7 separate regions of the Homo sapiens genome follow, and regions 1, 2, 3, 5, 6 and 7 are each linked to region 4. Evidence: promoter capture Hi-C in 16 types of primary human blood cells and fetal thymus (Javierre and others, 2016). All regions are on one chromosome and are shown on one strand. The core of a region is centred on a gene start or on the middle of the fragment in contact, and the rest is flanking DNA. Distances in the headings are between cores, read along the strand shown. Region 1 overlaps MCTP1 (multiple C2 and transmembrane domain containing 1). Region 2 has its middle 4.6 kb from the start of RFESD. Region 3 overlaps MCTP1 (multiple C2 and transmembrane domain containing 1). Region 4 holds the start of MCTP1 (multiple C2 and transmembrane domain containing 1). Region 5 overlaps MCTP1 (multiple C2 and transmembrane domain containing 1). Region 6 overlaps MCTP1 (multiple C2 and transmembrane domain containing 1). Region 7 has its middle 5.3 kb from the start of GPR150.

Region 1 (2,700 bases), core at 29-2,528, 330 kb after region 4:
CACAGAAAGGAACAAGAAATAATCAAGTTGTTACTGAAATTACAAGAGGGTAGCTTATAAGAAGGTTGAAAAGAGAATCTCATAAGTATACATAAGGATACAGTTAATTTTCTATAAGTCATTATGGGGCAAATAGACACACACTTGCATAATAAATTGTCTCCATTGGACACTGGCTAAAGAAAATCAATTCAATAGCTTTTTTTTTTTTTTTTTTTTTTGCGACAAAGTCTCATTCTGTCACCCAGGCTGGAGTGCAGTGGCACGATCTTGGCTCACTGCAACGTTCATCTCTTGGTTTCAAGCCATTCCCTTGCCTCAGCCTCCTCAGTAGCTGGGATTACAGGTACCCACCACCATGTCTAGTTATTTTTTGTATTTTTAGTAGAGATGGCATTTCACCATGCTGGCCAGGCTGGTCTTGAACTCCCGGCCTCAAGTGATCTGTGCTCCTCGGCCTCCCAAAGTGCTGGGATTATAGGCATGAGCCACCGTGCCCGGCCTTAAATAGCGTTTTTGAACTGTCTTTAACTACATAATATGGGATGGCACAATAACGTTAATATGAGAGTGTGCGTAGCCAACCCTTCTCCCACGAAAGGGAAGACCTTTGTGGTCAGAGATTTTTCTGCCCTGCTCCTCACTTCTAGAGAGAAAGAAATATCCACATGAGAAAAAAAGGAATTATCTTTGTAATAAAGAGCTGAGATAGGCAATGAAAAAGGAATAAAGAAAAGACAAGTGGGCTGTGAAGGAAGTATTATTTCTGGGGTGGGGAGGTGGGAGATCAGGAGACATGAGTTAGAGCAATGGCAGGTATGAAGAAAATGGTCAGGAAAGAAAGCAGGTATTAATAAGGACAGCAACAGGCTGTTTGGATCTCATTAATGTTGCTGAAGTGAAAAATCATGAGAAGAAAGAAGTTTATTTTTAATTACTTCTACTTAGTGGGATATTACTCCATGAAAGAACCATGTGACTGTCCTGTCTTTGAAAGGGTTACATATGAATTTCCTCAAATTATATTAGATATTGGTCAGGTGCTTTTCTTATTCTTTTGTGCTCAAGAATAAGTATTCATCTATGTAGAAATCCAAATGCCAAGATGCATTTTTCAAAAGGAATGTCTTACTAGGCTCAAAAAGAAATAAACAAAAAACTGAAGTACACAAAAAAAGAATGGTGGTGTTCTGACTTGTAAGTGGGAGCTACATAATGTGCACACATGGGCATAGACAGTGGAATGATAAACACTGGACAGTTGGAAGGATGAGGGGGTAGCAAGGGGCTAGATGATGAAAAATTCCTTAATGGGTGCAATGTATGTTATTCAGATGATGGATACCCTGAAAGTCCTGACTTGACTGCTATGCACAATCTACACATGTAACACAACTGTACTTGTACCCCATAAATTTACACAAAATCATTTTTTTTTTTTTTTTTGAGACAGAGTCTTGCTCTGTCGCCCAGGCTGGAGTGCAGTGGCACGATCTCGGCTCACTGCAAGCTCCGCCTCCTGAGTTCACGCCTTTCTCCTGCCTCTGAGTAGCTGGGACTGCAGGTGCCCACCACCTTGCCCAGCTAATTTTTTGTATTTTTTAGTAGAGAAGGAGTTTCACCTTGTTAGCTGGGATGGTCTCGATCTCCTGATCTCGTGATCTGCCCTCCTCGGCCTCCCAAAGTGCTGGGATTACAGGCACGAGCCACCGCGCCTGGCCAAAATTTTTTAAATTGTGGCAGAAATGGTCTTGACTTGAGAGCAAGAATATACATGTATGTATGTATATGTATAAATATACAGTATAGGTGTATATATGTATGTATCTATACATATACTCTATATATATAGTCTGCATATATACAGTACACATACATATACTATAAATGTACATAAACTGTAAATGAAGACAGCAACACTGTATGCAGGCCAGAAGGCTTGGTTAATCACACACTATGAGTAAAGAAACTAAGAAAGCAAGCCCAAAGGTTGTTGGGTTTTTTTTAAATCACTTTGAACTTTCAATATATAAGATTATGTAGCCTAGCCACAATTTAACTTCTACCATACAGAAGAGGATACACAGTTACTTTTAAATATTTTTATACTTTACTTACATTTTTACATTGTCACTTTTTACATTTCTATATGAGAAAGACAATTAAGTTAAATAGAAATCATACAAGTCTCTGAGATACTAGTACACATATAAAATGATGTCACTTTATTATATACAATACTTTATAATATTTTAAAAGTATTAAATATACTTTCTAAATGCTTTCCTATTTTTTTTCAGTTGATTTTCATTTTCTGTAAAATGCCTAGGGCTTTTTTTGAAAGAAAATCTCTAACTTTTTGCTTTATTTTTTCCATTATTTGTGTTCCATTTTTTGCCTCATCTTAGGGGAAGAATCAAATAAGGTACCTTGGTGGAAATAACATTTGAAGTTATTAGAATTTCATAAAAATTGCATCATTTTTATTGTCTCTATGCAGGCCTGTGTGTTTGAGTGACTCAGTTCTGATATGATGCCCACATCCTCCACAACAGATTATTAATCTTGCCCAAAAGATTTCTTAGGGACTAATCAATTCTGTAGTGACTGAGAGTATGAAAATGCATCTGTGAACTACATAGTTAGAACACATTAAGTATACGACCCTCCTATCTATAATTACAGGAAAAAGAAGTCCAT
Region 2 (2,752 bases), core at 8-2,507, 360 kb before region 4:
CTTCCTTGACTCTTCCCTTTTCCTTGTCGCACCCCTTCCTGCCCGTCTGTAGAGAAAGGAGTTCGCATAGCTGACCTGAGACTGCTATCCTTAAAAAGGTCTGCTTGTAAGGTTGGCCCTTCGCTGACATGTGAGAACTTGGCAGGTAAACAGTCCCTTACTGTCGTGCCAAAGCCCTATTAACCTCAGTAGGAAAGGAACCAGGTTCAAGAGGCCGAAGAAGAGACCTAGAGCCAGCAAACAAAACATGGTGTTTTATTAGGTGCTTACAGAGTCCAGTGGTGGTGGGATGGGCAGGAAAACTGCAACCGCCTGCAACCATCATGCAGTTTATATGGTATTTTCACTTTATACCCTCCCCCTAACAATCTCCACCTGGCAACCTTCATGTATCCCAAAATTCAGGGCCTCAGTCCCCTATATTAGATGTTTCTCATAGATAAAGAATGACTCTTCAGGTTAGCTACTCCCAGATTCCCTAGCTCAGAACATACATTCAGGTGCATCTGCCATATGGGGTCATTCTGAGGGTATGCATAAATTATTACTATCAGGTGAGTTTATCCGACACCTACACCTACACATACAAAGCTTTCCCTAAATAATAAAAGTGATTCCCTGTGCGTAAGCTATTTGTACAAACAATGCACTTGCTTTTCCTTCTGAGATTCTAGAACTTGGTACCTGCTAGGCAGAGGTGCCTGTGACCAATGTCCAGTAAAAACTCTGGCTGCTGAGGCTCAGTCTTTCCCTGGCAAAAACATTGCAGGCATGTTTCTACATTTTCATTTCTGGAGGAAGAATGCAGTCTGTGTGACCCCTCGCGAAAGGGAGAACACTTAGGAATCCTGCACACGAAGTCTTCCATGCTCTGCCTGAGTCTTTTTCTTTACAATCCAGCTGTGTATCCTTACTACGTTTCTGTAATAGCGTAACTGTAATGAGTCCCAGAATCTAGTGAATCTCCAAATGTGAAGGGGGTCTTAGGGACCCTTGATATCCCCCCATATCTAATCCAGCACTGAGTCCTGCCAATTCTTCCTAAAATTTATCTGAAATCACACCGCTTCTTACCTTATCTGCTATCACCACCCTGAAGGTACCATCATCTTTTATTTGTGTTGGACTTTGAGAGGGCCCAATAACACCTTTCTTTTATTTTCTGCCTGAGTTTGGAACCAGTTGAGAGACACAGAAAGAGATCAAGGTGTGAGCTTTATTTAATTATGAACGTCTCAATTGGGGTGGCTTAAACATGCAGCCAAAGGGACTAACAGCCTCCTGAATTAAACTTATGTATCAAAACTCTCTTAAAACTGTCCTCTCTAGCGGACAGACTAGATTGTACCCTCTCTACAGGTACACAAATCTGTAGAAAGAAGAAAGGAGCTAAGCTGAGCATACCAGGAGAAGTGAGTGAAGGTTGGAGATTTGACTAGCTGAAACACTTCTTGTTCACTGCTGATTTTTATCTTCCTGGTGGGACTCCAAGTCCTGAGCATTAAGCAAATGATACACAGCTGACGTAAGTGGGGGTGTGGAGAAGAGAGTCTGATCAGCAAATACCACCGAACCTACATTGAGCCTGAAGCAAAACACTGGCCATTTGTACCAAGCCAGGCTTAGCAAATACACACAACAGAGCTATGTGGGCCCAGCAAAGGCAAACCCCAGAGAGCTTTAGGTGACGTGGGCCTCGGGTGCAAGCTGCTGCTCCTTGACCTTCAACAACATTCAGAACATATTCATTCTGCTACACTGAGTGTTAGCAGAGATAGGGAGGCCACAAAGACCTAAGAAAGCAGGTATAACTAAGACAAGGTCTAAATTATGTCTTTAAGGACTTTGGCCTTTCAGACAGTAGTGGGTAGAGTCAGGTTTGCTGCAGTTAGAGGTAGTGATATTGATGAAACTGAAGCTTCAGGTTCCCATATTTGCATGGGGCCTTCCAAGATCCTGAGGTCCTGAGGGACACTAGTAATGTGTTCACATGGTCATATGCTCTCGCCCTCTCACCCCTACCCCTCACATATATAATTATATATAATTTGGTAACAAACACAAAAATACAGAAAAATACAGGGAAACTCTATTCCCAAACGCCCATTTGAGAGTATAGTACCAATCTGATGCCCCGTCAGTCCCTAATGCTTTAGTATGTATTTTCTCCAAATCTGGACATTCTTCTACATAACCACAATACAACCATCCAAATCAGGAAGTTAACACTGACACACTACCATCTAATCCTCAAATTCAGTTCAGAATCAAGATTGTATGTTTAGTTTTCATGTCTCTAGCTTTCTTCAGTCTGAGATATCTCCTTAGTCTTTCTTTAACATTTATGATATTTGCATTTTTGAAGATTACAGGCCATTCATTTTGTAGAATATCCCTCAGTTTGAGTTCATCTGATGTTTCCTCCTGATTAGATTCAGGTAATGAAGGCACATCACAGAGACTGGACTTTGAGCCTCTGTAGGCTGCCCCTTGATTCCCTTCCCACTGGGCTTGAGCTGGCCGTGCTATGTCACTACACCATGTTGCCATCTATCCCACTAGGGCTCTGACACTCCTCTGTGAGCCACCTTGGTCACTCCTCCTTCTCATCCCCCTAGCCAGCATGTGTGTCTTCCCCGCTCTGTCCCACCTACTGGCTTTAGGACTGAATTGTTCAGAAAGGAGAAAGAAGACAGGGAGGAATAATGATAATAATGTTTTTGTAAAATGTGTAAAAGCAAAGTAATTTAAC
Region 3 (3,065 bases), core at 208-2,707, 310 kb after region 4:
ATCCCATCAGGAGGGCACCATCCTCATGACCTTATCCAAACCTAATCGCCTCCTGAAGTCTTTACTTCCAAATACCATCACATTGAAGACTAGAGTTTCAGCCTACGAATTTGGCAGGGAGTTGCGGGGGTATAAACATTCAGTCCATAACACATGCTGTGCCCCTCTTCACCCCTTTCCCTTTGTCTTGAGTGTCCTACCCCACCATGGCCAGTCTTCTTTCAGTATTTATTCAAGCTTCACTGCTGCTTGGACACCTTCCCTGATCCATTCTAAAATCACTGAGAAAGAAATGAAGAATTAAAAGCAAGGGAATAACAGAAAAACAATCGTAAGATTTTGGAGAATGAATTGAAATAAGGAAGACTAGAAGCATGGAGACAAATAGAAGACCATTGGCTTGCCTTTTTTCTCAAAGTGAATATATGAATAGTCTAAGAAATGTATTATTTCATTACCATGGTCATTTGTGATGTATTTTAATCACATTGTAATATAATTGCTTGAAATTATTCCAGTTAATGATAGTAATTAATCTACAAAAGTCGTGCAACTATTTGTATTGTTATTACTTATGGTTTTAGCTGATAAGGAGATTTTTTTGGTTTTTTTTAGGGTCATAATCATTTTTTTCATGCATATATTCTATAGGATCTGGTTATTTTAATGGCACTTTTTTGATACTTAGGTTTATTTATATAATATTTGTAATTAATTATAGGCTTTTTCTCTTGACTTAACAAAGCCAATGAATCCTCTGAAAATAATAATTACTACTTTTTGCTGTATACTTATGTATTATTATTTTTCAGGGATAGGGTCTTGCTCTGTTGCCCAGGCTGGAGTACAGTGGCACAATGAGAGCTCACTGCAGCCACCAACTCCTAGACTCAAACAGTCCTCCTGTCTCAGTGTCCCAAGTAACTGGGACTACAGGCATACCACCATGCCCAGCTAATTTTTTAAAAAAATTTTGTAGATACAGGGTTTTACTGTTGTTGCCCAGGCTGGTCTCAAACTCCTGACCTGAAGAAATTCTCCCACCGTGGCCTCCCAAAGCATTGGATTACAAGTGTGAGACACTGTGCTTGTTCTATTTATGTATTCCTAAATGATTAGGAAAAATAGATAATTAGTAACTGTTATCTCAATTGAAATAAATCATTCCACATATGAAATCAGAGATTTGATAACCATTTTAATATGTTTGTAGTTCTTTATTTAAATTTAATTATATTGAGTCAAGTTTTCAGATTGTTAAGTAATTATATTACTTTGTCTTCATGTTGAGTAAGATGAAGAAAAATTGCTAATAGTTATTGAATGTTTATTTTGTGGGAGGAACTGTGCTAAGTACTTGATATGTATTATGTAATTAAACCCTCACAATGACCTTAAGGAGGTTCTATAATCGTCTCCATTTCTATCTATGTGCATCTTCTACTTGTGCAAGTCCACACAGCTTGTAAGTGCAGGAGCAGAGATTGGAACCCAGGCTTTCTAACTTGGAGGTCGAACTGTGAACTACCCTGTACCACACTAAACCATCTCTATTACAGATGGAGTGGTCATGAGCCTTTTCATCCCCCTCAGAAATATACTAAGCAATCTCATACCTTTTAATTATATTTTTCTATAGAGCACCATTAAGCAATTTTATTTGTTGCAGAAAGACACCCAGTTTTAGGCTTCTGAATAAGTGCCTAGCTTAGCAAAGGTAATATATTAACAGTAATGTATGTCATTCATACAAGCCAACAAATATTTATTGAGCACTTGAGTACCTGCTTTGTGGCAGGTTCTGGGATGCAAAAATGGTCTCTGTCTTCATACTATTTTTGGTCTAATGGAGACAAAAGACACTAAATAACTCATCTTCCCCGTCAAATTCACTGAGTGGGTGTAACCAATACTCTGTTATGCTAATGGCACAGAATTAATAATTGCCAAATTGATTGAGATCCATGGCTTCCCTAGTATACAATCTTGTCTCTCATGGGGGAACCAGGAGATAGATTATGGAAGGGCTGAGCCCAAAAATAATAGTTTGAGGTAGACGGGACAAGTCGGTTGATCGGAAAAGATGACGATGGTTAGGCATCACAGTGTAATGAAGTAAATTTGGAATCTAGAATCAAATAGCTCTTGTAATGGATTCTAGAGCTGCCACTGCTTACAAGTTAGGTAACCAGGTCAAGCAGCCTAATCTTTCTGAACCAGTTTACTCATCTGTAAAATACTGAGAATACTAATTTATTCATTTGCTTGACAAACATTTATTAGATGCCTCCTTTGTGCTAGTTTAACCCAACTCACAGGGCTAGAGTTATAACTAAATAAAATATTGTATTAAAAGCACAAGGCACACAGTAGATACTCAAGAAAGTTAGTTCTCTCCCTCCTCAACCCAGTGGTTTTTTTTTTGTTCATTTAGTGGACTTTGCCTTTCAGTTCTGTAAATGAGAAACCCCCTTGCCTAAGAATGGCCAGGCTATGGGAAAAGCTGGTTCATCCCCCATAGTCTTATTAAACTGAATTGAATGGGACTCACACAAAATTGATTGGCTCTGTGAAGTCATATGAATCATTCTAATTAAGAAACATGCTTTTCTAGAAGGAAAATCTATTTGAAAAGTTGTTTCTTAATTAGAATGATTTAGGATGCAAACTAAGCTTCTGGTAACAAGAGACCCAACTTTTCTGATAATTTTTAAAATTATATTTTCTTCCACATGAACCCCAGAAAGATCTAGAGCTGATGATATGGTTCTGCTCTCATCACTGTGTGGTTTCCATCTCTTGTCTAAAGCAACTGCTCCATTTTCACCATAAGACCCAGAAGTTGCATAGGTCACTTATTCTCACATCCTACCAGGAAGGACATGGGTACATGGCCACACCTGTTGCTTGGAGAATAAGATATTCTCTGAAGGGAGGACCAGGCATTCCGCTAAAACTCACAGAGACTCTATTCAGTGATAGTGAAGGGAAAGGGGGAAAATGGCTGTTAAGGGTTCAACCTGCCACAGAAGACAAATTAGGATCCATAGTCTCCATGGTAAGAG
Region 4 (2,858 bases), core at 86-2,585:
TTAAGTCTTAACTCAAAATTTTATCTTCTCAGAGAGACTCTCCCTGTACACATAATGTAAAAAACCAAAAACCTCTCCATATGGGGCTGCCAGATTTAGCAAACAAAAACATGACACCCAGTTAAATTTAAATTTCAGATAAATAATAGTATTTTAGTATAAGTATGTCCCATGCAATATTTGGGACATACATATACTAATATTATTCATTGTTTCTCTGAAAGTCAGTTTAATTGGGTGTCCTGCATTTTGTCTGGAAGCTCTTCCTCTGTAGCCACTCTGTTATGTGGTACCCTGCTTAACTGTTTCCATGGGACTTTTGCATATTAGAAATTCTGTTTATTGTCTCGCATCACCTCCCAACCCTCACCCTCACAATAAGCTCCATGTGGGTGGGACCCTGATGCCCTGTTCACAGCTGCATCCCCAGAGCCTATCACAGTGCCTGGTATATAGTAGGTGCTTAATAAATATTTGTTATAAAGGTAACAAAAACAAAACAAAACAAAAAACTTAGGTTGGTAACACCTCCAAAGCATACTGCTAGCTAGACAAGACTGATCAGTGTGCTACCGCAGCTTAGGGAACTCTCCCGTTTTCCCCATTTAGGAGGACGAAAGAGGCATTGTGTTGCTGGCCTTTCAGAAGTCTCTCCTAGCAGAATCAGAAGACCCTGGCTGAGCAGCTTTGGGAGAAGCAAAGTCTGAATGAGCTAAAAAGCCTTTTCCGTTTGCCTTGCAACAAGCAAATGAAGTAACCAAAGAAAAAATGCGCTTGAATGAAAAGAACAAGATTCTGTGCGTGCCGAATCGGATCAAAGGCAGTGCGCATCACCCATCTTCGTCCACCGTAAACTCCCTGCAACTTAAGGGCTGGCTTTATCGTCAGACTCCGGAAATGCTAGAACCTGATCATAAGAGACCAGTGCAGAGGCAAATAAAGAAAAGGGAGGGGTGGATGGGGATGAAGTCAAGACAGAAGAAATTAAACTCTCGTCTTGGACCCAGGGAGCGCAACGGGGCGGGGGCAGACGTCTTCAGCTTTAGAACTCCGTCGGGTTCATCGCTCAGTGTGGACGATCGGCGCCCCCACGAGACCCATCGAGGGCACATAGTTTCCACTCCAGCTCGCTTCATCCGACCCAGACGATCGCCAGCGCGGCCAGCGGCCAGCGCACAGCGAGCTGCCTGGGCAACTGTGGCCGGATCCTAGGGAGCAAGCTGGCTTCGGGCCCTACCTAGCTCCACCCGGCTCCTACCGGCCCTCCCACCTAGGAGCTGGAGGATGGTCCCGGGGCGCCCCAGGGGGACTGCTGGTCCCCGGAGTCTCCAGCCAGACGCGCCTTGTTGTGTGAGCCGCGTGCGCGCCCAATTTGGAGGCAGCCGCCCCCGCCGCTGACAGGTGCTGCCCAGAGGGCGCCGGGTGCGGTCCCTGGCGCAGCTGGACGCGCACGCCCCGGTGCGTGCAGCTTCCCGAGCTCGGTCAGAGAGAAGAGGGAGCCAGGGCGCGGCCTGGGGGACGCCAGTGGACTGGAGCCGCGGAGCTTCGAGGGAAAAACTTTGCAGGCGCCGCGGCCGGGATTCGGTTACGGCTCCAGCCCACCCCAGCAGGTGCGGGAGGAAGAGGCAGCGCCGGAGTCCCGAGGCCAGAGAGCCTCGGCGGCGGCGGCCGCTTCTTTCCCCCGAGCTGGCCTGAAGTCGCTGGGCACTCCCGGTTTCTGCTGCTGCGCCCGCCGCCGCCGCCGCCGCCACCGCCAGCGCCGCGGGGACCCGGGAGGAGGTGCAGCCGAAGAGGGAGGAGAAGCAGGAGGAGGAGGAGGAGGAGGAGGGGAGAGGAGGAGCAGGGGGTGGAGGATGGAGCCCCGGGCTGCCGCGGCGGGCGAGCCAGAGCCGCCGGCGGCGTCCTCCTCCTTCCAGGCCCGGCTCTGGAAGAACCTGCAGCTGGGGGTGGGCAGGAGCAAGGGCGGCGGGGGCGGGCGCGCTGGGGGTCCAGAGCGCCGCACTGCGGACACCCCGTCGCCCTCCCCGCCACCCCCGGTGGGCACAGGGAATGCACCGGCCAGGGGGAGTGGTGCAGGCAGCAGGTGGAGCGGCTTCAAGAAGCGGAAGCAAGTGCTGGACCGAGTCTTCTCCTCCTCGCAGCCCAACCTGTGCTGCTCGTCGCCGGAGCCCCTGGAGCCCGGCGGCGCCGGCAGAGCCGAGCAGGGGTCCACGCTACGCCGCCGGATCCGCGAGCATTTGCTCCCCGCCGTAAAGGGGCCCGCGGCGGCCTCGGGAGCAGCGGGAGGGACGCCTCCTGGCGGACGCTCCCCCGACTCAGCTCCTTCCTCTTCCTCCGCCTCATCCTCCCTGTCCTCCTCGCCCCAGCCTCCCCCGAGGGGGGACCGCGCCCGAGATGAGGGTGCACGGCGTCAGGGCCCCGGGGCGCACTTGTGCCACCAGAAGAGCTCCTCTCTGCCGGGCACCGCCTGCCTGGAGCAGCTGCTGGAGCCGCCGCCTCCTCCCGCAGAGCCGGCGCGGAGTCCCGCGGAGTCTCGGGCCCCGGAGACGGGCGAGGAGCACGGCAGCAGCCAGGTGAGTGCCGGTGGCGCGGCCGGAGACAAGGTGCGCGGGACCACGCCTCCCTCTTCAGGCGTTCACCACCCGGGGAGCGGGGGGCGGGGGCCGGGAGGCGGGAGGAGAAATGCTATTAATTCTAAGTAGATGAAACAGTCGAAAGAAAACATCTCGCTCTGGTTTAGCAAAGATGAAAGAGTTCTGACTTGCACCCGGACTTTACTTTTGGTAGAAATGATACCTGTCACCAGAAGCTTTCTGAGTAGTCAATGAAAAGTTAGACCTAAAGTGGGTACTTTTTAG
Region 5 (2,926 bases), core at 210-2,709, 350 kb after region 4:
GTTAATTTGTGTTACACACTCTCTTAAATAACCTAGACCTACAAATTGCTTGCCTAAGGCTAAAAAATAGAAAATTCAAAGAAACATATGAATGATCTCAGTTGGCCTTTGATGAGTAAAAAAAAAAAAAAAAAACTTCTTTATCTTGGATTAGTTTTGATATTCTTCAGAATTATTACACAGCCAACATTTGAAGAAATATCTACCTACAAAAAGTTGATATATGTATGCTTTACAAGATGTATGTTACTATTGTATCTAATTCTGTGATTTCTTTATATGTACAGTAGTTATATAATCGCCTTAAAAAGTCACTTCAACAAAAGATAAAAATTAAAAAATGGATTGAGATCGTGGAGTCTTTTAAAAACAATTACTTCTGCAGCTCTATCACAAGCCATATTTTTATGCTACTTCATTCCTTTTACTGGCTTCAAGGAAGTTGAGCTGCTAATGAAGAATTTGAATTGTACTATAATAATATCAGGCAATAATCCTTTCAAAAATTAATTCATATGTTTCTCAGCTGAAGTTAAGATCATAGAGCAAAAAAATAAATCTTATTTTTCTATAATTTGCTTCATCTTCTATCTTTCACAATCCCCAATCTTTCTTCTCTAACATGTCTCACAGATAGCAAAGAAAACATTATTAATAGTATATATATTAAATTTTCTTTTTAATTTTTCTACTGTTTTCAGTTTTATTGAATCGACCTTAACTCAACTACCTAAAAGAAAAAGGGACTTGGAAGTGAGATACTTAAACCCATTGCTTTGGTAGTAGATTTGGCTCAAGAGGCAGAAATGTTATAAAATCTAGGGTCATTTTGAGAGTTACTGGATATAGTAATAGAACTTTAGATACTGAATTAGGAAAATAGTGAATGGGTTCTCATAACTGCTAAATCTTTCCTATTTATACTTAGGGTAATCACTGACTTTTTATTGTATCAGTTTCTCAATCTGAAAAATAAAACCATGCAGCCTGCTTATAAAGCTGATTTTGAGAGACAGGACAAATACTGGTCCTATGTTTTGTTTACTATAGAAGGTTAATTGTATGTGGTCCTTGTGAGTCAGGGGATGTGACTTTGTGGAATCCTTGTAATATTGGCTAGTGTTGCCATGAGATTTCACTCTTTCTAATGTTCTAAGGCCCTTTTACATAGCATAACATTTCTTATATAATGGAATTTTATATTATAAAATTCTTAGATGCTAGATAATGATGATAAGTGACCATGAATTGTAGATTGTACTTTTTATGTATCTTAATAGTTCTTGATTGATTTGACTCAAAATATCATCTCTAGGATATACCATTCTTTGTCCATTGAAACTCTGCTTGGTGAGAAAGTTGAGTGTTTATTATCCAACTCTTATGGGGCAGTTTTTGTAAATATGGTATACCACTTAAATATTTGGTTTCCAGTTGCCTTTTGGTGATGATGGAGGAAGTGATGGTGGTGGTGATGATGATGATGATACTGATGATAATAAATCATGTAACATCAAAAGTAAAGATTTAGTACATGTCCCCCTAGATGGCCACCTCTATAACCCAATGCTGGGATTTGTTGCTTCAAAATGAACTGGACATTTAGTACTTTGAAAACATAAAGTATTTCTATAATAGTATTTGATAACAGTGCTTTGCAGTTTCCTGACTTTAAAAAAAAAAGTAGGCGTGATGAGGAATCATTGTAACCTTAGGAAATCTATTATTCTTTTATGTTTTGGTCAACATTTAACAGTCTTTGTTAAGGAGGAACATATAATTATCTTTGAAAACATAAAAGAGGAACATATAATTATCTTTGAAAATGTTACGCTAGTCTTAGTTTTTACCCTAGAATGTCTAAATTCATTCTTGTGGTTTAGGTTAAAGGTTGCCCTCATCTTATATTAAAAATCTTTTCATTTTTGTGTTATTCTAATCCATGAATAGTTTCTGACATGGTTCTTTTTTATGGTGAATCCTCCTGAAAGAGATACAGTTCTTAAAGTACATTTCCCTGATACACAAATATGGCACAAGCACTTTAAGCTATATTCCTTGCCCTGAATATTTCCTATTCTCCACTTCATCTGCCTTAAACATAATAGTAAAGCAAAGAGAGGGGAAAGAGGTTAATCAGGAAGGTTAATACTTCAGTGTTCATTGAGAAATTTTTTAAAGTGAAGAGAGAAAACAAAAAAATTCGTTGGGCTTTTATGATTTAGTTTATTCAAGAGATTAGTGATCTTGGGGATGCATTACAAAGCTCTAGAACCTTAATTAAAACTTTTGGCCATACATATTTCTTAGTATGACACAAGCTAACTAATTTAAAGGATATGCTTTCACTAAACGTTTAGCAGGAAAATACACTAGTAGCCATCACAGTATGCAGCATTTGTTTTTAATTGAAAGCATTTGTAGGCCCTGATGTAGTTAAAGATTAACTGGAAACAGAGACAATTCTACGATGCCATCCAAGCAAAAGATTTTGAATGTGTTTGAAGAGAAAAATTATTATATACCTGTTCAAGTCATGTACAACCTCAACCTCCACCACCAAAAGGAGCCATTGGAAATTATGAGACTCAATGTGTTTTTTTTCAGTCAATAAAGGCATCCCGATACTGTTCCTTTTTTTTTTTTTTTTTTTTTTTTTACAAAGGAATAAATCAAATGAACTCTCACCAGAAAGACTGCTGGAATGTTAAAGTTGTTTCTCTAGTTGTGTGTGCGTGGCAAACAAGTTTTGTGTTGTATAATTGCTGCAGGAACTGTTCGCTGTTTCAAGGGCTAATAAATGTTTCCGCTAAAAAACAACTGGCTGCCCTATTCTGTTCTTGAGTGAAAAGATAATGAAAATGCTTTATTTTATTTACAGACAATGCTAATGAGGAAGAGTTGGAAAAGATCAAGTAAGGTAATT
Region 6 (2,982 bases), core at 431-2,930, 290 kb after region 4:
ACTCATTTAACACGATGTTCTTATAACATGCATAGTCACCCTTAATTTTTAGAAAAGCACTAAGAAAAGGGGTAGTTGTAGATATAGAGAAGTGATTCTCAAAGTTTGGTACCCACACTTGTGAATTCTTGGGCCCCATCCCAGACCTACTGAATCATAAACTCTGGAAATGAGACCCACGAATCTGTGTTTTAAGAAACCTTCTATGTGATTCTGATGCATGTTGAAGTTTGAGAACCACGGATGTAAAAGATATCTAAAGAATCTCACTGCCCCCCGTCTTAGTCAGCGTTCTCTAGAGGGACAGAACTAATAGGATAGATGTATATATGAAGGGGAGTTTCGTAGGAGAATTGACTCACACAATCACAAGGTGAAGTCCCACAATAGGCCGTCTGCAAGCTGAGGAGCAAGGAAGCCAGTCCTAGTCCCAAAACCTCAAAAGTAGGAAGCCGATAGTGCAGTCTTCAGTCTGTGGCCAAAGGCCCAAGGGCCCCTGGCAAAACACTGGTGTAGATCCAAGAGTCTAAAAGCTGAAGAACTTGGAGTCTGATGTTCAAGGTCAGGAAGCATCCAGCATGGGAGAAAGATGTAGGCCAGAAGACTTACCCAGACCAGTCCTTCCACATTCTTCTGCCTGCTTTTATTCTAGCCCTGCTGGCAGCTGATTAGATTGTGCCCACCCAGATGGAGGGCGGGTCTGCCTTTTGCAGTCCACTGACTCAAATGTTAATCTCCTTTGGCAACACCCTCACAGACACACCCAGGAACAATACTTTTCATCCTTCAATCAAATCAAGTCGACACTCAGTATTAACCATCACACCCCTCAACATACACACACTACAGATAATCACTTGCAGTCACAGGCAGACAAACAGAAAACTGCCACACCAATTACTATATACAATTTTAACACATAGGTAAATAAATGAAACTATGACCACAAACTGTATGTTAAAAAAGCTTCCTAGGACAAACTACAAATGTAGCCAAAAGATCTCAGTAAAGGATTATTTACTCACCGTAGGCTATTTTCCTAAGAGTTTTGATCACACTCTAGTAACACAGCTATATGGAATTCCTCAAATACAAAACACAGACCACAGAATTCCTCAGATTTAAGACACTCTCTAGATACCCGTGAAACTCTCTGGCTCTTCTTCCTGGAGCTCCTGATGTCCTTTGTATACTAAATTGTCCCTCCAGCCTCACTCAGGCCTTCAGGCCAATTTCATTTCTCTAAGGCCTACGGTTAGATGACAAGATACCATAAACCACAGAATAAGAGCCAGTTCAAATGGTCATAGACTTTGACATAGGGAGCTCTGAACCTGAGCTCAAATTGCCATGTCTTTGAAAAGTCTGGTAGTTTGTTGGTCATAGCTGCTCTTAGGAGGACAGAATCTTGCGTGTTCTTGTGTTGTTCCTTAATCGAAAGGTTGACATCTGCTTGACTTTGGTAGTTCCTATGAAGCAGAGAATTTCAATGGGTCTTCCCAGAATTGTGGGGAAAAAACCGTTTAGTCAATTTAGTTATTGAGCATGTGTCTGAAATCTATTGCAATCTTGTTTGCAAGTGAAAAGGCCCTTTGCAGGCCAATTTAAAGATTCACTCCCAAGAACATTTTATTGATAAGTTTTTAATGCCTACATTTCTTTATTTCATCCTAAAAGCAAACACAAAGTTTCTAGATCAGAGGCCAGACATTATTTACGGTTCAGTTCCCCATCTGTACTCTCCCCCTGTGGAGGGATGCAATGAGAACAGATGGCAGCTGCATTTACAGTGGGTTGGATTGCTGGAGAGGAGCCCCAAAACTATGCCATTTAGAGTTTCTGTAAAAGCTGTTGCACAGCAGCCCCTCATCCCATCTTGAGAGAGAGAAAAAGATTTAGTTTTTCTAATATAAACAAATCATCTCTTGGGAAAATAAGGGAAGGTTCCTAGGTCTTTGCAACCCTTTGAAATGTAAAGTCATGGCTCTATGAAGAGAAAATAGTCCTGGGAAAAAAAGAGACATTATCTTTACAGCATGAGTTCATCATTTATTATGTTCCAGGTGTTGTTTTACACTTCTGTATTGCATAGATTTTGTCCACTGTGAATACGTGTAGATGCTCCGTAATTATGACCTGAAGTGAAATTTTCTTCATAGTTGAAGAATGATCAATTTATCCCTCTAAACATTTTTAAAGTGTAGACTGCTGAGTTGTTTAGTATTTTAAAGGATTCTAGTTTTATGTCAAAATGTACTCAAAGGCAATGACTACAAACATTGTATGTTTAACTTTTTCTAAAACTTCTAGTGTTTTGGGAACTTACTACGTATTGAAAAAAAGTTATCTGAAAATAAATCCTAGTTGAATTGAAAAAGAATGAACAAAGCTTTGTTCTTTATTAAAGAAATTCTGTGAGTGTAAGTTATAAGAATAACTAAAATAAATGGCTTTTCCCAAAAGCATAATCAAGTTTAAAAATTCTCAAACTTCAGTTAATTTCTTTTAAATGATATTTTATTAGCAGTCTGTCATAGAAGAAAAGACCATGTTTTTAAGTTGAGTTCTTCAGAAGCATACTCTGAGACAGGAATTTGTCTTTCTTTGAGAGACAATTCCGGAAAGCAGTGCTAAGGCAGATAAAAGGAAGGTTGAGATGGGGAAGGGATGGGGGCCAACACAGGGTGAATTAAGAGGGCCTCTGGGACCTCTGGGACAAGTGTAGAGTTCTCAGCAAGTCCCACTGAGGAACCAAAAAGATGGGTATTTATTTAGCAATTCCCATTTGCCATCTGTTAAGCCCTACTCCCAAAGACATTGTACCTGTGGCCTGGCCTATGCATGGGCCAAACGCACTCCTGTGGCTGCATAAAGTCGTAGGAGCTTGAGATTGGAATTGGAGATACTGTGTAGGAGAACTGAGAGTGCAGACAGGATATGGCTGGCTACCCACAGCATTTGCTACAGCACAGGTCTGGTGTC
Region 7 (3,065 bases), core at 510-3,009, 330 kb before region 4:
CAAAAAAACCTGTTGTTAATACTCAGTGATATATATTTCAGGCTATAATGACTAGATCTGTATATTACAGAAATAGATTACACTGCATACAACATTTTATATCCTGCTTTCATTTCACCTAAGATTGTATTTGGATCACTTCCCATGTCAGTGATAATATGATATAATTATCTGTTTAATGTTGAATGGATTACAATTATTTAAATAGCCCCCTATTTTTAGACAAAAGTTTTTCTCATTTTCACTTTATAAATAATTCTGTGAAGAACATCTCTTCACCTACATCCTAGCACATGCATTCAATTATTCCCTTATGATAAAATCCTGTCATTGGAATTGCTGAGGCTGAGCACGTGCATTTTTAATGCATTTTAACATATAGTACTGAGTTATTCTCAACAAGGGATGCAAGCAATGTATGTGTCTTTTTCCCCATAGCCCCAACAATATGAGCATCATCAGCGTTTGTCATTCTCATAGATGAAAACACTTCATTATTTCTTCATTTTAAAAATTGAGATATACTTTATATATCATAAAATCTAGAATTTTAAAGTATACAATTCAGTGCTTTTTAGTATATTTACAAGTTTGTGCAACCACTGCCACTATCTAATTCCAGAACTTTTAAATCATTCCCAAAATAAACCCGTACACATTATTTTCCTCTTCCAGCACCTAGAAACCACTAGTCTCCTTTGACTCTATGGATTTGGTTATTCTTGACATTTCATAGAAATGCAATCACATAATGTAGCCTTTTGTTTTTGGTTTCTTTTGCTTTGAATAATGTTTTTAAGTTTCATCCACATTGTAGTATGTAACAGTATTTCATTATTTATGGCTAAATAATATTTCATTATGTGGATACACCAAATTTTGTTTATCCATTCATCAGCTGATGGATATTTGGGTTGTTTCTATTTTAGGCTGTTTCCATTTTGGTTGTTTTCATTATAGTGAACAATTCTGTTATGAATATTTGTGTACAAGTTTTTCTGCGAATGCCTGTTTCAGTTCTCTAGAGTATATTCCTAGGTGTGAAATTGCTGAGTCATATGTGAATTTCATGTTTAACTTTTTGAGGAACTGCCAAGCTGTTTTCCATAGAGACTGGGCCCTTCCCACCATCATTGTATGAGTTTTCCAGTTTCTCCCTTTGCGTAGATGCAGTTTCTCATTTGAGATCATATTCCTTCTGCTTAAAGAATGTCCTTTAACATTTCTTATAGTTCAGATCTGCTGGCAACACATTCTCTTAGTTTTCTTTTTTTTTTTTTCTGTCTTATAAAGTTTTTATTTTACCTACATTTTTGAAAGATACTTTTGCTGGGCATATAGGATTCTATGATGAGTTTTTCTTTCAGTACTTGAAAGAAGTTGCACCATTGTCTTCTAGTTTGCATAGTGCTTGATACATTTTGCTCATCTTTGTAATGATGTAATTCTTATCTTTTTGTTTGTTTATTTGTTTGAGACAGAGTCTTGCTCTGTCGCCCAGGCTGGAGTGCAGTGGTGCAATCTTGGCTCGCTGCAACCTCTGCCTCCCGGGTTCAAATGATTCTCATGCCTCAGCCTCCCAAGTAGCTGGGATTACAGGTGAGTGCCACACGCGGCCAGGCTGGTCTCGAACTCCTGGCCTCAGGTGATCTGCCCAGCTATGCCTCCTAAAGTGCTGAGATTACAGGCATGAGCCACCGTGCCTGGCTGGTTTCTTTTTTTGGAGTGTTTCTTTTTTTCTGTGGTTGCATTCAAGATTTTCCCCTTATCTTGCCTCACTGCAACCTCTGCCACCTGGGTTCAAGTGATTCCCATGCCTCAGCCTCCCAAGTAGCTGGGACTACAGTCATGCACCACCATATCCATCTAATTTTTGTATTTTTATTAGAGATGGGGTTTCACCATGTTGGCCAGGCTGATCTCAAACTCTTGACCTCAGGTGATCCACCCGCCTTGGCCTCTCAAAATGTTGGGATTACAAGCATGAGCCACCGGGCCTAGCCCTTTGTATATATTCTGCTTGGGCTTCTCTAAACATTTAGGTTGGTGATTTGTTGTCTTTTATTAATTTTGGAAAATTCTCAGCAATTATCTTTTCAATTATTTCTTCCGACCTTTTATCTCTTTCTATTCTCCTTCTGTGACTTGAATTACATGTATATTATGCCATTTCATACTGTCCCACAGCTCTTGGATGCTCTATTTTTCTCCACTTTTTCTTTTTCTCTTTTTTCCCCTCTCTGTTCCAGCTCTCCTCAGAGGGGCTTGCCACCTTTTGAAATTCAGGATTTTATTTTGAAAATTTTCTATTCTAACCTGTAGTCAAGTTTACTAATTCTTTCTTCTATCTCTAGTCTGCTGATAAGGCAATTGAAGGAATTCCTCATCCATAATAACATGTTTTTCATGTCTAGTGTATCCAATTTATTCTTTTTTGAATCATTTCCATCTCTGCTGAAATTCTGTATATGTTCGTGCATGTGGTCCACATTTTCCACTAAATCCTTTAACATATTAATCATAGCATTTTTACAGTTACTTTGACAGTTTCAACCTCTGGGCCATCTCTCAGTCTGGTTCTGTTTACTGCTTTATCTCTTGAAAATTGGCTTCTTTTTTTTTTTTCTTTTTAACTCTTTTGCCTTGTAAGTTTTACTGAGTGCCAGACATTATATATAAAAGAATAAGAGTGACTGATGTAAATAGTGTTTACTTCTGAAAATGGCCATGCCTCTTCACTCATCAGGCTACTAGGGTGGTAAATCTAATCAGTAGTTGAGCTAGGTTTAGATTTTGTTGTTACTACAGTTATCATTATTATACTGTTGACTTCATATTCCTCCATACTGACATCTTGCGTTTCAACTATGAGGCCTGGAATGGTAGAAGGTTTTTCTCAGTGTTTCTGCTCCATCCCCAACTTTCAGCTGGCCCTTCACACTTGGCCACCAGAGTGGGGGAGGGGACGGGGATGTTTCTTTCCAGGCTTTGGCCCCTCTCCCAGAAGTTCTGTGCTGTTTGCTGCCCATGATGGGGGCAGGGTGGCTTTCTTGGCCTTCCTGTTC

The links. The method cuts DNA at HindIII sites, captures the fragments that hold promoters and counts their contacts. A CHiCAGO score of 5 or more calls a contact.
Region 1: a fragment that was not itself captured here is called in contact with the fragment with the promoter of MCTP1 in region 4 in 3 of 17 cell types (M2 macrophages, megakaryocytes and monocytes); the score reaches 7.9 in M2 macrophages.
Region 2: a contact is called between a fragment that was not itself captured here and the fragment with the promoter of MCTP1 in region 4, in 1 of 17 cell types (megakaryocytes). The highest score is 5.9, in megakaryocytes.
Region 3: a contact is called between a fragment that was not itself captured here and the fragment with the promoter of MCTP1 in region 4, in 5 of 17 cell types (megakaryocytes, monocytes, M2 macrophages and 2 more). The highest score is 11.4, in megakaryocytes.
Region 5: a contact is called between a fragment that was not itself captured here and the fragment with the promoter of MCTP1 in region 4, in 2 of 17 cell types (monocytes and M1 macrophages). The highest score is 5.7, in monocytes.
Region 6: a contact is called between a fragment that was not itself captured here and the fragment with the promoter of MCTP1 in region 4, in 1 of 17 cell types (monocytes). The highest score is 6.1, in monocytes.
Region 7: a contact is called between a fragment that was not itself captured here and the fragment with the promoter of MCTP1 in region 4, in 1 of 17 cell types (megakaryocytes). The highest score is 6.6, in megakaryocytes.

The regions. Positions count from the first base shown.
Region 1 is chr5:94,949,693-94,952,392 of GRCh38, reverse strand. The region is part of intron 3 of MCTP1 (multiple C2 and transmembrane domain containing 1); the gene reads left to right. Among named protein-coding and RNA genes, the nearest start is that of MCTP1-AS1, 28 kb to the left of the region's middle. The HindIII fragment of the contact is 4,291 bases long and covers 1-2,700 here.
Region 2 is chr5:95,640,778-95,643,529 of GRCh38, reverse strand. No RefSeq gene overlaps it. Among named protein-coding and RNA genes, the nearest start is that of RFESD, 4.6 kb to the left of the region's middle. The HindIII fragment of the contact is 1,327 bases long and covers 594-1,920 here.
Region 3 is chr5:94,972,295-94,975,359 of GRCh38, reverse strand. The region is part of intron 2 of MCTP1 (multiple C2 and transmembrane domain containing 1); the gene reads left to right. Among named protein-coding and RNA genes, the nearest start is that of MCTP1-AS1, 4.9 kb to the left of the region's middle. The HindIII fragment of the contact is 2,436 bases long and covers 240-2,675 here.
Region 4 is chr5:95,283,571-95,286,428 of GRCh38, reverse strand. It overlaps MCTP1 (multiple C2 and transmembrane domain containing 1), which reads left to right and starts at 1,335. Exons shown (of 23, transcript NM_024717.7): 1 at 1,335-2,573. The coding sequence starts at 1,854. RefSeq lists silencers at 1,987-2,046, 2,127-2,246. The HindIII fragment of the contact is 7,244 bases long and covers 1-2,811 here.
Region 5 is chr5:94,931,947-94,934,872 of GRCh38, reverse strand. It overlaps MCTP1 (multiple C2 and transmembrane domain containing 1), which reads left to right. Exons shown (of 23, transcript NM_024717.7): 6 at 2,882-2,920. Among named protein-coding and RNA genes, the nearest start is that of MCTP1-AS1, 45 kb to the left of the region's middle. The HindIII fragment of the contact is 4,524 bases long and covers 1-2,926 here.
Region 6 is chr5:94,992,465-94,995,446 of GRCh38, reverse strand. The region is part of intron 2 of MCTP1 (multiple C2 and transmembrane domain containing 1); the gene reads left to right. Among named protein-coding and RNA genes, the nearest start is that of MCTP1-AS1, 15 kb to the right of the region's middle. The HindIII fragment of the contact is 1,423 bases long and covers 969-2,391 here.
Region 7 is chr5:95,613,224-95,616,288 of GRCh38, reverse strand. No RefSeq gene overlaps it. Among named protein-coding and RNA genes, the nearest start is that of GPR150, 5.3 kb to the left of the region's middle. The HindIII fragment of the contact is 4,485 bases long and covers 1-3,065 here.